2 separate regions of the Homo sapiens genome follow, and region 1 is linked to region 2. Evidence: promoter capture Hi-C in 16 types of primary human blood cells and fetal thymus (Javierre and others, 2016). All regions are on one chromosome and are shown on one strand. The core of a region is centred on a gene start or on the middle of the fragment in contact, and the rest is flanking DNA. Distances in the headings are between cores, read along the strand shown.

The links. The method cuts DNA at HindIII sites, captures the fragments that hold promoters and counts their contacts. A CHiCAGO score of 5 or more calls a contact.
Region 1: a fragment that was not itself captured here is called in contact with the fragment with the promoter of DHX35 in region 2 in 1 of 17 cell types (activated CD4 T cells); the score reaches 5.7 in activated CD4 T cells.

Annotation. Positions count from the first base shown.
Region 1 is chr20:38,037,229-38,043,150 of GRCh38, reverse strand. It overlaps RPRD1B (regulation of nuclear pre-mRNA domain containing 1B), which reads right to left. Exons shown (of 7, transcript NM_021215.4): 2 at 2,587-2,716. It overlaps LOC124904898 (a long non-coding RNA gene), which reads right to left. Exons shown (of 2, transcript XR_007067579.1): 2 at 5,044-5,692. Among named protein-coding and RNA genes, the nearest start is that of RPRD1B, 6.4 kb to the right of the region's middle. The HindIII fragment of the contact is 403 bases long and covers 1,556-1,958 here.
Region 2 is chr20:38,957,564-38,964,227 of GRCh38, reverse strand. DHX35 (DEAH-box helicase 35) reads right to left here and starts at 1,884. Exons shown (of 22, transcript NM_021931.4): 1 at 1,821-1,884. The coding sequence starts at 1,860. RefSeq lists an enhancer at 1,550-1,859 and a silencer at 1,900-2,019. The HindIII fragment of the contact is 4,420 bases long and covers 867-5,286 here.

The DNA of each region.
Region 1 (5,922 bases), core at 508-3,007, 920 kb after region 2:
TTACTATGTCCATATTGTCCTGCTCTGAAAGTATCTTGCTCATTTAATTGTCTTTGCCTGCCTTGTTCACTGCTGCTCCCCCCGTGTCTGGATCCATACTTGGCACATAGAAGGCACTCCAATACATGTTGAATGAAAAATGACATGGACAGCTGTCTCCTCACTGGGAAGAAAACAAGGCACTTGTATGAAAAGCAAGTTTGCAGTCTGGTTAATTAAACTGCTATTCAAATCAAATCTATCCTATGAACTTGGCAGCTTTCTCTGACTTGAGAGTTTTTTTTACTGTTTGTTTGTTTTGGGTGTGGAGGTGTCTTTTATCATAAAAATATCCCTCATCAATTTAGTCAACAGTAATGGGTCAACTATCTTTGTTCATCAACTGACCACAGAAAAAGCACACAGAAAGTATATGTTAATTAGGCTACTCCTACTGTGGACGAGCTGCATCACGGTTGAAGCAGAACTGTTGGACTTTCTGTCCCAATAATGGGGTATAAGAAAGGAGATTGGAAACATGGGTATCCTGAATGTAATACCCAAGCAGAATCTTAAAAGAACCAGAATGCAAACAGAAAGGAATTCGGGCTATTTTATTGAGAAGGACCAGGTTTATCTTCCTCACACTGCCACTGAATCTGCCAAGACACCTAAAACCTGGCTAGTTTTTAAGGTGTTCCCAAGAAAAAAGGAATTTTTAACCCTGGTGTTGCCCACCCCCTTTTCCACCCCTTTCTATTTACTTTTTGGTTTCAGGACAGCTAAAGATTACAGATCGTTTGTCTGTTTGTAATTTAGAGACAGGGTCATGCTCTGTTGCTAAACCTGGAGTGCAGTGGTATGATTATAGCTCACTACAGCTTTGAACTCCTGGGCTCAAGCAATCCCCCTGCCTCAGCCTCCCAAGTAGCTAGGACTACAGGTGCACACCACCATGCCTGGCTAATTTTTAAAAAATTTTTTGTAGACACAGGGTCTCACTATGCTGCCCAGGCTGGAATTTTTTAATAACACTGTTATGTTTACTATCCCTACAAGAAATCATTCCAGCCAACTCCCTAGACCAAATCTCTTCCATAATGAGTTAACATTAATTAACTCATTTAACAAATATTTACTGAACGCCTACTGTGTCAGGGCAGACCATAATGTTGCCCAGCTCCTGGGACACCACTTACATGGAGGCTATATAAATGGTATTCCTTCAAGCTACATAACTCAGCAGCTCTGTGCCAGACACTTTACTAGGTGCCTGGAATATAGGAAAAAACAAATGATCCAATGAATGAGCAAATGTGGAACAGGCATTGTACTACATACTTTTAAACATATTGTCTGTCTTTACCCTCACAACTCTTATGAGGGGGAGTGGTATCCTCCCCCTTTAGCCAGTTAGGAAATTTGGGCTCAAAAAGTTAAGTAACACATCCAAGGTCACTCACATAGTGTCTGAGGCAGAGCTACCATCAATTTCTAAGCAACTGTGAACTAAATCTCATCAAAGCAAGAAAATCTGTCTATTTCAGATAGCTCCTCTAGTAGTCTGTTCTAAGCTTACTCTGTTATGAAGATTCAGTATTTTTTTCAAGTTAATAACACATTTTGCTACTTGCGCCCATGTTGATCAAAAGGTGAGCCAGTTATGTAACTTATCCACAAAAACCATCTTTTTCATCTCTAGAAAGCTAGGTGTCATTTCTTTCTCTTGGATTTCTAATTTTATTCCTTCAAACTTTTCAAATCCTGCAATGAAAGCAGGACTTCATTTCTCATTTAAGGCCTTTCACTATATTTTAGACCTAGTAACAATTTATGTTTAACCTACTAGTCTCCCATTCATGTTTCCCAATTCCTTTTGCAAATATCTGTTTATATATTTACTTATAAACATAATATTCTAATGAACGATAGTTTTTCTTTGCTTTTCCTGGGCACCTAATTTAAGCCCACAGAAAGCTTTTGTTTTTACATGAAGTAAAGTAATTTATAAAACTTTTAATCCAATGTATGCTTTCTATGGTATTAGTTGTATGAGTGCCACTCCTCTCTGCCACAAAACACAACAGCACCAGGCTTAATACAATATAGCCAGAGCAAACACCTACTTTCTACACTAATAATTACTATTATTGCAGTTACAGTAATGCCTACTATTTTTAGTAAACTAGACATCTAGAAATCCAGAAGGAAATAAAAAGGAAGGCATTTGGCAATTAATTTCTTGCTATTAAGTTATGTTACTAAAAGGTTCCCTTACTAGTTAGCTTTGTTTTTTGATCATAAGCTGATGAGACAACTCAACCAAACCAAGGAAAATACCATAACCAAGAAATAAATTCAAAAAATGAAAATGAATATATCTAGAAGAAAGATAATGCTAGGCTGAATCTCTCAAATGTATCAGAATGTTTACATGTCTCGATAGTTCTTGAGGGCTCAACAAAACATAAAACCACAATTCGGCCTCCACAACTCTCTGTAAAGTAGGAAGTTGTCAATTTACAAAGGCTATCACAGAAAAGGAAAGAACAAAAAGGTGGGAAAGGCAATGAATTTAAAAACAAATCCAAAAAACAGACAACATACCTGGCAACATGAGAAAAAGCATCCACAAGGACAGATTCAAATTCTCTAGTGAATTCAGGTCCTTTCCTTTTACTGTTTTGGATGACATCATTCGCTAAATACAGAAAAGTAAGCTTTCTATTTGATTTGGCTGAAAAAAAGAAAAGAAAAGAATTTAACTTACACCAAAGAAATTCTCAATTCACAATTCTTTTGCCCTGGGCTGCTCCTAAAAAAACATTAAGACAAGTATTATCTACCTGGGGGGTCAAGTAGATATGTTTAAAAAGACCACCTAAGGAATAGGTTTGGGAATACCATTTCGGAAAAAAAAAAAAGAAAAAGAAAAAGAATGGGCCATCTTCATTGCTGTGTTGTTTAAACCAGGGTAATTAATTGATAGTAAAAATTAAGATAATCCAAAGAGAATTCCTAAAGGATAAGCAGTCAGTGTTAATGTTGAAACTAGGGCTTTTATTTATTCTACTGCAAAAATGAGCAACTTCTAACTCACTTTTAATTATCAAATATTTCAGAATGAAAGACTGAGTTGGCCGGACGCAGTGGCTCATGCCTGTAATCTCAGCACTCTGGGAGGACGAGGTGGGTGGATCATTTGAGGTCAGGAGTTTGAGACCAGCCTGGCCAACATGGTGAAACCCTACCTCTACTAAAGATACAAAAATTAGCCGGGTGTGATGGTGGGCACCTGTAGTCCCAGCTACTCAGGAGGCTGAGGCAGGAGAATCGCTTGAACCCAGGAGGTGGAGGTTGCAGTGAGCCGAGATTGCACTACTGTACTCCAGCTTGGGCAATAGAGCAAGACTCTGTCTCAAAAAAAAAAAAAAAAGACTGAGTTAGGTTTCAATTTTAAAATGGTTTCGCCGAGCGTGGTGGCTCATGCCTGTCATCCCAGCACTTTTGGAGGCCGAGATGGACGGATCACCTGAGGTCGGGAGTTTGAGACCAGCCTGACCAACGTGGAGAAACCCCGTCTCTACTAAAAATACAAAATTTGCCTGGCGTGGTGGCACATGCCTGTAATCCCAGTTACTCAGGAGGCTGAGGTGGGAGAATCGCTTGAATCCGGGAGGTAGAGGTTGTGGTGAGCCTAGATCATGCTGTTGCACTCCAGCCTGGGCAACAAGAGCAAAACTCCGTCTCAAAAAAAAAAAAAAGGTTTCTTGTAATTTTGCTCCTAAACTGAGAATTTCTCTGATACTCCAATAACCATAATCAATAATATAGAAGAATCTCTAGGTGCACCAATAGATATTAGCTCAAATACAAGTATACATTAACACTACACTCTTATTGAAAATTTACACACGTGTGAAATCTAGATATGCAAAATTAGGGCTTTCACAAAAACCATAATTCTCTCTTATTTATATGAAATGTGGTTATTCCCTATTACTCTATATGGTATCATATATTAAACCATAAAAACCTCGTGCAATATGTCTGAGTTACAGTTGCTTTGGGGAACATTACTGAATTCCCTGGCTTCTATGCACATAATTTCTCAACTATAAAGTTACATCCCTACAATTTTTGGTTCCAATTTTCTTTTAAAAGAAATAAATAAGAACATAATTAGATGTTTCAAAACACAAAGTTTTCTCCAATGCTAAAGTACCTGAAAAACACAAGCTCTTTATCAACCTTAACACACCTGAGTAACTCTATTTCTCTCTGAAACCAGTTGTTTCTTTTGAAATGTACAAAGCATTGATATGTCTGACATAGCAGGCATAAGATCTGACATTTTAAAATGTAGCTACAGGAGGCTGGGCACAGTGGCTCACGCCTGTAATCCCAGCACTCCGGGAGGCCAAGGCAGGTGGATCACCTGAGGTCACGAGATCAAGGCCATCCTGGCTAACATGGTGAAACCTTGTCTCTACTAAAAATACAAAAAATTAGCCAGGCGTGGTGGCGGGCGCCTGTAGTCCCAGCTACTCAGGAGGCTGAGGCAGGACAATGGGGTGAGCCCAGGAGGCGGAGCTTGCAGTGAGCCGAGATCACACCACTGCACTCCAGTCTGGGTGACAGAGCAAGACTCTGTCTCAAAAAAAAAAAAAAAAAAAAAAAACAAAACAAAAAAAATCAGCCGGGCGTGGTGCCAGGCGCCTGTAAACCCAGCTACTTGGGAGGCTGAGGCAGGCGAATCACTTGAACCTGGGAGGCGGAGGTTGCAGTGAGCCGAGATCGCGCCAACTGCACTCCCACCTGGGTGACAGAGTAAGAGACTCCGTCTCAAAAAAAAAAAAAAAAATGTAGCTACAGGAGAGTAACCCAAGTTAAAAACATGATTTTAATAGCACATTACAGTTTAAACTGATGAAACTGATGTCTTAAATGCTCATAAAATTAAATATGGATACCCTGAATTGTCTTAACCTTCTGGTAATAACCTAGTTTAGATGGCCAACTGATAAGAATACTAGGAACCTGGAGCTTTCTTCAACTTTCTAATTATTATTCAAAAGCAGAACAAAAGTGTCAGTAGTTACAATATCTACTGTTGCTACAAAGGTATGATTATGGCAAAACGTGCTTTTTTGTTAAAGCAAACCTTGCTCTGCAAAGTTGATGTAAGTGAAACTACTACACCTATAATCCCATGCAAGTTAGCAGATTCGAAAGCAAAACAGAACTTCAACAAAGCAAATTTCATTAAGTGAAGCTTTAAAATTCCATACACTTTATGTTGAAAAAAAAAAAACCTAGAATCCATATTGTAAAATGTCAGTGTGGACATTCAAGACCTGATATATACTTCTCAGTAGACAAACAAGGTATCTAAGGGGCTTGAGACCCAAGGTTTTCACTGTTTACAATGCCAATTAATTTTCATCACCCCAGAACTTAACAATGGGGATTTATTTAGGATAAACTGTATCCCTCCATATTCAACATCCTCAACAGTCAACATAAGCACCATGTGTGTCAAGGTGATATGACAAAACCCTAGAGCTCTTGAGCACACACAGTCACAATACACACAACATGCACACCCCTCCATCCCAATCCTGGGGGACAACTCACTTGTTCAGATGTCCTTCCTATACGACAGAAATAGGTCCTTTCACTCACTACCCATGTCCATTCCAAACTGGTCAAACTAGTTGTTGAGTAAAATTTAAACAACTGGTTAATCAAAACTTTTCACTTGTTTGGCTGGTTTTGACATCTACAGAAAGTCTTAAAGTAATTCTGCAATAAAAGCCCATTACCTACATTCAGGCCAAGATACAAAACACCATTAAAAACATTCATTTAGGAGCACTTTACACCAAAACTAGTCCATAAAGAAGGGGAGACGTTCTACTTAGAACAGAGCTCAAATGGGAT
Region 2 (6,664 bases), core at 635-3,134:
CCTTTGCTTCGAGTTCCATTTCTCTATGAAACAAAACCTTATTCATCCTTTAATGTTCACTCCAAAAATACCACCTTAATGAAGTATTTCTTATCCATACATTCAACTTTCCCTCCCTCTTCCATACTTCCATATAATTATAATAGTAACCTATCTAGTGCCAAGATCCTGTTGTGTGTTATTCTCATTTAAACCTCACAACACTACTTTGGGTAGGGTAGGTATTATACCCAATTTACAGATGGAGTAACTGAGACTTTGAGAATTTAAGTGACTATCAAGTCATCAACTTAGTAAGTGGTAGACATGATGGGCACTGCAGTCTGACTCTAGAGCTCATCTTCTTTACCACCACCTTACTCTGTCTCATTGTAAAATCTCTTCTAGAGGACATCTAACTTTATATTCAATTAAGAGAGAGACAGTAACTTGAGAGCAGAGCCCTGAGCATCTGTATTTGTCTCCTGAACACAGGATTAGGTTTTCAATAAGTGTACCCTCAATGGATGAACTAAATAATGAAATAGAACTCTTAAGAGTAATTCCACGTTCTTTAACCAAAATAGTACCCTGGTCTGATTTCAAACAATTAATTCAGCTCTTTATTATACCTAACACTTTCACCTGTTACTAAAAGCGTGAATAAATTAAAAGTATTCATTACTTAGTAAGTTCCTAGTTTTGGATGCAAATAAAACTCAGGATGGATAATTGGCTGATGACTTGAAATGCTGAACCATAAAACTGTCAAGTGACAGACTACAAATTTTTAAAAAGCATTAAACATATCTCTTGCTTGGGTTTATCTCTCACATCACTTATATGCATGGTCAGAATTTCAGAGAACCACTGAAAAATTAAAAGCTTTGCTTATATTACATTCTTGGTGTCATTTCATTTTTGCTGCAATATACTTTGCACATCCAGACCTGCAGGGGTGCAGGTGGTAGAAAAAAATCAAGCTGGTAGCTGTAATTTAAAAACTTTTGTTTTTTACAAGAAACTGTTTGCAGAGAGGAAGTAATGCATCTAGTACGGTCTGGCATATGCACATTCAGTAAAAACCTGATTAATGAGTAAATATCAAGACAAAACAAGTAAAGCATTTTGTGATTGTGATTCGTGTTAGTCTGTAAGAGAGGAAGTGGCTGGCAGCCAATATGAAGGACTGTTCCCTTTTCTAGTAGACATTCGGAGTGGACAACAATTATCCTAAAAGAAAATAACACACTTTCCCTTTTTTTGAGCATTTATTCTAAGTCTGACAACGCGTTCTGCTTGTCATTTAAGCCCACAGCATAGAAGCTATTGTTCTGCCCACTTTACAGGTAAAGAAGTCATGGCTCAGAGGCATTAAGTGACTCGCCCAAGGTCACCCTACTACAAGGCAGAGACGAAAATTCGAACCCGGACAGTCTGACTCCATAACTTGGGCTTGCAAGCCTCCAGCAGCGAGCAGCATTGTCTGTCGGGCCACAGCGCAACCCCAGGGCGCTAACGAGACACGAGAGGGAGCTTTAGGATTCCCCATCTCGCGGGGTGGGCAGGACAAGCATCAGTAACGAGGAAGACGAGGCCTGAGGAGGCTGGACCACTTTAACAAGGTCACAAAGAGTTTCTGCTCACGCTAGGGGAGCACCCCCAAATCCCTCGGGACCACTGGGGAGCCTGAGCCAGAGCTCCCCCCGCACAGAGGCGGCAGCGCCCAGCTCGCCGAGGTCAGGCCTGCGAGCAGGTCTGCTGGCCCCAGGGCGCCGGCCGCGGCGCCAAGACCGAAGTCAGGCCGCCGCATCTGCCCAGCGTTCCACCAAGGGCCTTACCGGGTCGCCAGAACTTCACCGGTCCCACGGGCGCAGCCATGTTGGGGTAAAAGGTCACGAGGCTAGCTCCACCCCACCGTCGCGCGCTAGGCCCCCAGGGCCCGGAGGGCGTGGCCCCCGAAGAGCCGCTGCCCAGACGGATCGCGCCGTGTGACGGCCACGCCCCCACAGCTACCGCCCCCGTCTGAGCCACGTGACCCACTTCCAGGCTCCGGCGAGCGCACCGGCCCCGCCCCCGAGCCCACGTGACCCTGCTCAGCCATTTTGGAGAAAAGGGCGCGCTCCTCCGCCTACCTCTTGAGCGTGGAGGGTAGATGCTTCAGGTGACCTTTTACGAGCGTGGCGTGTCCTGGATGGCGGCCGCACACTTAGGAAGAACGGGCTTTGGGAGAGGACCGCTGGCCCGAGAGTGGAACCTTGCACGCACTGGGCGTTGAAGCAGTGCTTTCTGGATTAAATACGAAATACTGATGTCACAAGCTACCTCAACTTGTCGACTTCTGTTTTATTCTCAATTTCAAATTGAAGGGTAATAATAGGAACTACCTCGTGGGTTGTATTTGTCAGTAAATATTGCGCGCCTGCTGTGGGCCCAGGTAGTGCGGCACAGTGCCCCAAATAAAACAATGCGAAATGATATGGAAGTCTTCAGGGACCTTGAGGGCAAAACGGAAAAACGGACTGGGGGTGGGGTGGAGCGAATGGGTTGGCAGAAGAGACTGAAAATGGGTAGATCAATTAAGGTAGTCCACCAACTCAGTGCTTCCTCCAATTTGATACCCTTGAGTCAAATGCTTGTTAAAAACACAGATTCTAGGCCTTGATCCAATTCTGAATCGATGTCCTGGAGCATGGCTTGGGAACCTGCATTTTGAGAAGCTCCTGAATTCTTCAGATTAACAAATTTGGGAAAGATTACACTAATCCATCAGACGAAAGGTGAGGTCAAAGAAAAAGAAATTACAGTAATCCAAAGGAGCGCTAAGAAGGGGTGATGAGCTCAAGTGGAGGAAATAACTTTCTAGGTAGGCAACTAATTGGAAGGAAGTGAGAGGCTTCAGAATCTATGCATTTTTAAAGCTGTGAAGAAAATTCTGAATTCTTTGAAAGAAGTGGCATCATTATGGCAAGAGCAGGGGCTTTTGTGGACAACCAGTCCAGACTTGGAATCGTAACTTTGCCATTTCCTAGCTCCTAGCTGTCATTTAATTTTAGTTGTAAAATGAGGTTTAAAGAGGTATTACATGAGATAACATGTAAAGTACCTAACAGTGCAAAACATAGCAGGCACTGAATCAATGTTAGCTCTCATTACCTCAACTCAGAGCAAATCCACCAGGGGGAAAAAAATCTGAATTTACCTGCATAGGTTCATGTAAGAATCTTCTTTGATTTATTTTTATAGTAATTAATGTAGGGACTCAATATCTGTTAGTCCCTCGGCCTAGAATTCTCCATCCATCCTTTAAATTATCTTTATCCCTTAAAGGGCTAGCTCTAAATTATCTATCCAACTTAAACATTCCCCCTTGTAGTCTAGGAACTGTATTCTCACTTTTGTGAGAAAAGTGACCTGTAGTTTAGTTGCCTGTAGTTTACCTGCCGCCACTATTACACAGGGAACTTACTGAGGACGAGGACCATGTCACATTCACATTCGTGGCCCAGTAACAAGTGCCTATTGAGTGTAGATAAACATCATGCTTTAGGCTTAGTTTTAGTTGATCTGTAGTTTACCTGCCGCCACTATTACACAGGGAACTTACTGAGGACGAGGACCATGTCACATTCACATTCGTAGCCCAGTAACAAGTGCCTATTGAGTGTAGATAAACATCATGCTTTAGGCTTAGTTTTAGTTGATCTGTAGTTTACCTGCCGCCACTATTACACAGGGAACTTACTGAAGACAAGGACCATGTCAGCATTCACATTCACATTCACATTCGTAGCCCAATAACAGTGCCTATTGAGTAATGTATAGATAAACATCATGCTTTAGGCTTAGTTTTAGTTGATCTGTGGTTTACCTGCCGCCACTATTACACAGGGAACTTACTGAGGACGAGGACCATGGCACATTCACATTCGTAGCCCAGTAGCAGTGCCTATTGAGTAATATACAGATAAACATCATGCTTTAGGCTTAGTTTTAGTTCTTCATGACATTGATTTTTCCTTGTTTTATTTTTGTCTTATTTTACTAACAGCCCAAATACGGAAACCAAGGTTTATACATGAATATAAGGCAAAATGAAATAAATGCCACTTTTAAGATTATTTCATGGCCTGGCACGGTGGCTCACACCTGTAATCCCAGCACTTTGGGAGACTGAGGCAGGCAGATCAACTGAGGTAAGAGTTCGAGACCAGCCTGGCCAACATGGCGAAATTCTGTCTCTACTAAAAATACAAAAAAATTAGCCGGGTGTGGTAGTAGTCACCTGTAATCCCAGCCAGTTGGGAAGGTGAGGCAGGAGAATCCCTTGAACCCGGAAGGCAGAGGTTGCAATGAGCAGAGATCCGCCACTGCACTCCAGCCTGGGCGACAGAGTGAGACTCTATCTCAAAAAATAGAAAAAAAAATAAATAAAATAACTTATCTATTTTATCTATTACTCATATAATGAAACCTTCCTGTTTATGAAGAGACAGTAAATCGGCCATGCCTGTATTATTGGATCATAATCTTTTTTCTTTTTTAGATGGAGTCTTGCTCTGTCGCCCAGGCTGGCAAGCAATGGCGAGATCTCATCTCACTGCAACCTCCACCCACCGGGCTCAAGCGATTCTCCTGCCTCAGCCTCCCTAGTAGCTGGGACTACAGGCACACGCCACCATGCCCGGCTAATTTTTGTATTTTTAGTAGAGACAGTTTCCCCATGTTGGTCAGGCTGGTCTCATGGATCATAATCTTAAAGCTGGAGGAGACCATACTTAACACCTAGCCTGAATTTCTTGTCTTATAGGAAACTGAGGTACATAGAAGTTAAAAGGACTTGGTCAGAATCAATGAGTTAATTTAGTATCAGAACTAAAACTAGAACTCGGGCTTTCTAATTCCCAGGCCAGTGTTTGCTCAACTACATGGGCCACTTAAAATCATTAGAGCTACACTCTCCTGGAAGAAAATTAGTTCATCTGCCTTAGAAAGTTCTCAAAGTCCAACTCTCCCCAAGGGGTTATTTTGCCTACACAGACTACTGTTAGAGAAAATACCTAAGTAATAACCTGCATGTTGATGTTGTGGTTTTATTTCCACAAACTAGGAATGGTCTCAACAGATTCTTAGTCTTCCTAATTAACTATTTTCAGAAAGAATGGGCTAAAATAACTGCTCTGAAATTAAAACTGATATTTCTTGAGATGGCATCCAGAATTTATTTAGTTGATTGCCAACAATTCCATAAAAGTCTAATCATTTTGTTACATAAAGGTGTATTTTGCAACTTCCAAATGATAAGCTTTCCAGAAAGATAATGTTCCTCAAAATCGTGTTACAATATGGAAGTTTTTCTGTGCCTATGATAAAGGGTATTTTTTGCTTTGAATTTCCAGACTAAACCTATTGACCATGTTCAGGAAGGCATAGAATTTAGGGTTTTCATTTTTGTACCAGTTAAGACTTTTATGGATATAAGTGATAGAAAACCCAACCCAACCTCTCTTAAGCAGAAATGGCTCATATAAACTAAAAAGTCTGGCTGGGCACAGTGGCTCACACCTATAATCCCAGCACTTTGGGAGGCTGAGGGGGGTGGATCACCTGAGGTCAGGAGTTTGAGACCATCCTGGCCAACATGGTGAAAGCCCGTCTCTACTAATAATACCAAAAAAATTTGCCAGGCATGGTGGTGCACACCTGTAATCCCAGCTACTCAGGAGGCTGAGGCTGGAGAATCGCTTGAACCTGGGAGTCAGAAGTTGCAGTAAGCTGAGATCACACCATTGCTCTCCAGCCTGGGTGACAAGAGTGAAACTCTGCCTCCAAAAAAAATAAATAAATAAAAATAAAATGAAAAGTCCAAGAGTAGTTCTGACTTGAGACACAGCTGCATCAGGATACATACCACATAACCAGGATTCTTTCTGATCATATTGATCCACGTTCTGCTGATTCAGGCGTAACGTGGTAACAAAGTGGCCATGCCAGTTTTAGCCACCACATCCTCTTAAGCATTAAACCTCTTTCCAAAATTCCTTGGCAACGTATTCCTGACAGGCCATGTATCCATCCCTAAATCAACCACTAAGCCCAGGAATCTAATGTACTAATGGACTTAGGCCTTGGTCCCATGTTCCACATCCAGGGTCGGGTTAGGTCAGCTTCAGCAGAAACACATGGACTGAAAGCTGGGAACAGAACGGTTCCTCAGAGGGAAATCTGAGCGTGAGATTACCAGAGGATGAATGATTGAATGAATGAAGCAAAAATAATAGATGTCCATTACAACCATCCATGTATCAACCCGCTACAACTGTTAGCTTCCTAAGAGAAACGCTAACTGCCCTTTGGTTGCCACCATCAAGCTAGACAACAGGCAGCCATCCCCAGACTGAAAAGTGGTGGTCCTTTACAGAATTGCTGTACTAAATTGCATTATATCAGGATTTTCCCAAGAGTCTAAGGTGCAGTCTTCCACAACTTGCTGTAACATATGTAAACCTGTCTGGTTTGTTGGTTTGCACACAAATGATCACGTTCACACAGTTATTAGCATAAGCAAAAGTGCTGACGCAGCTTCAAAGATTTGGGTACAGTTGTGGAAAGATCCACTGGAAAGGATTCCGCAGCCAGAGGAGCCTCTGTTTCTTTGGCCTGAGGGACACACAATTCAATGAAG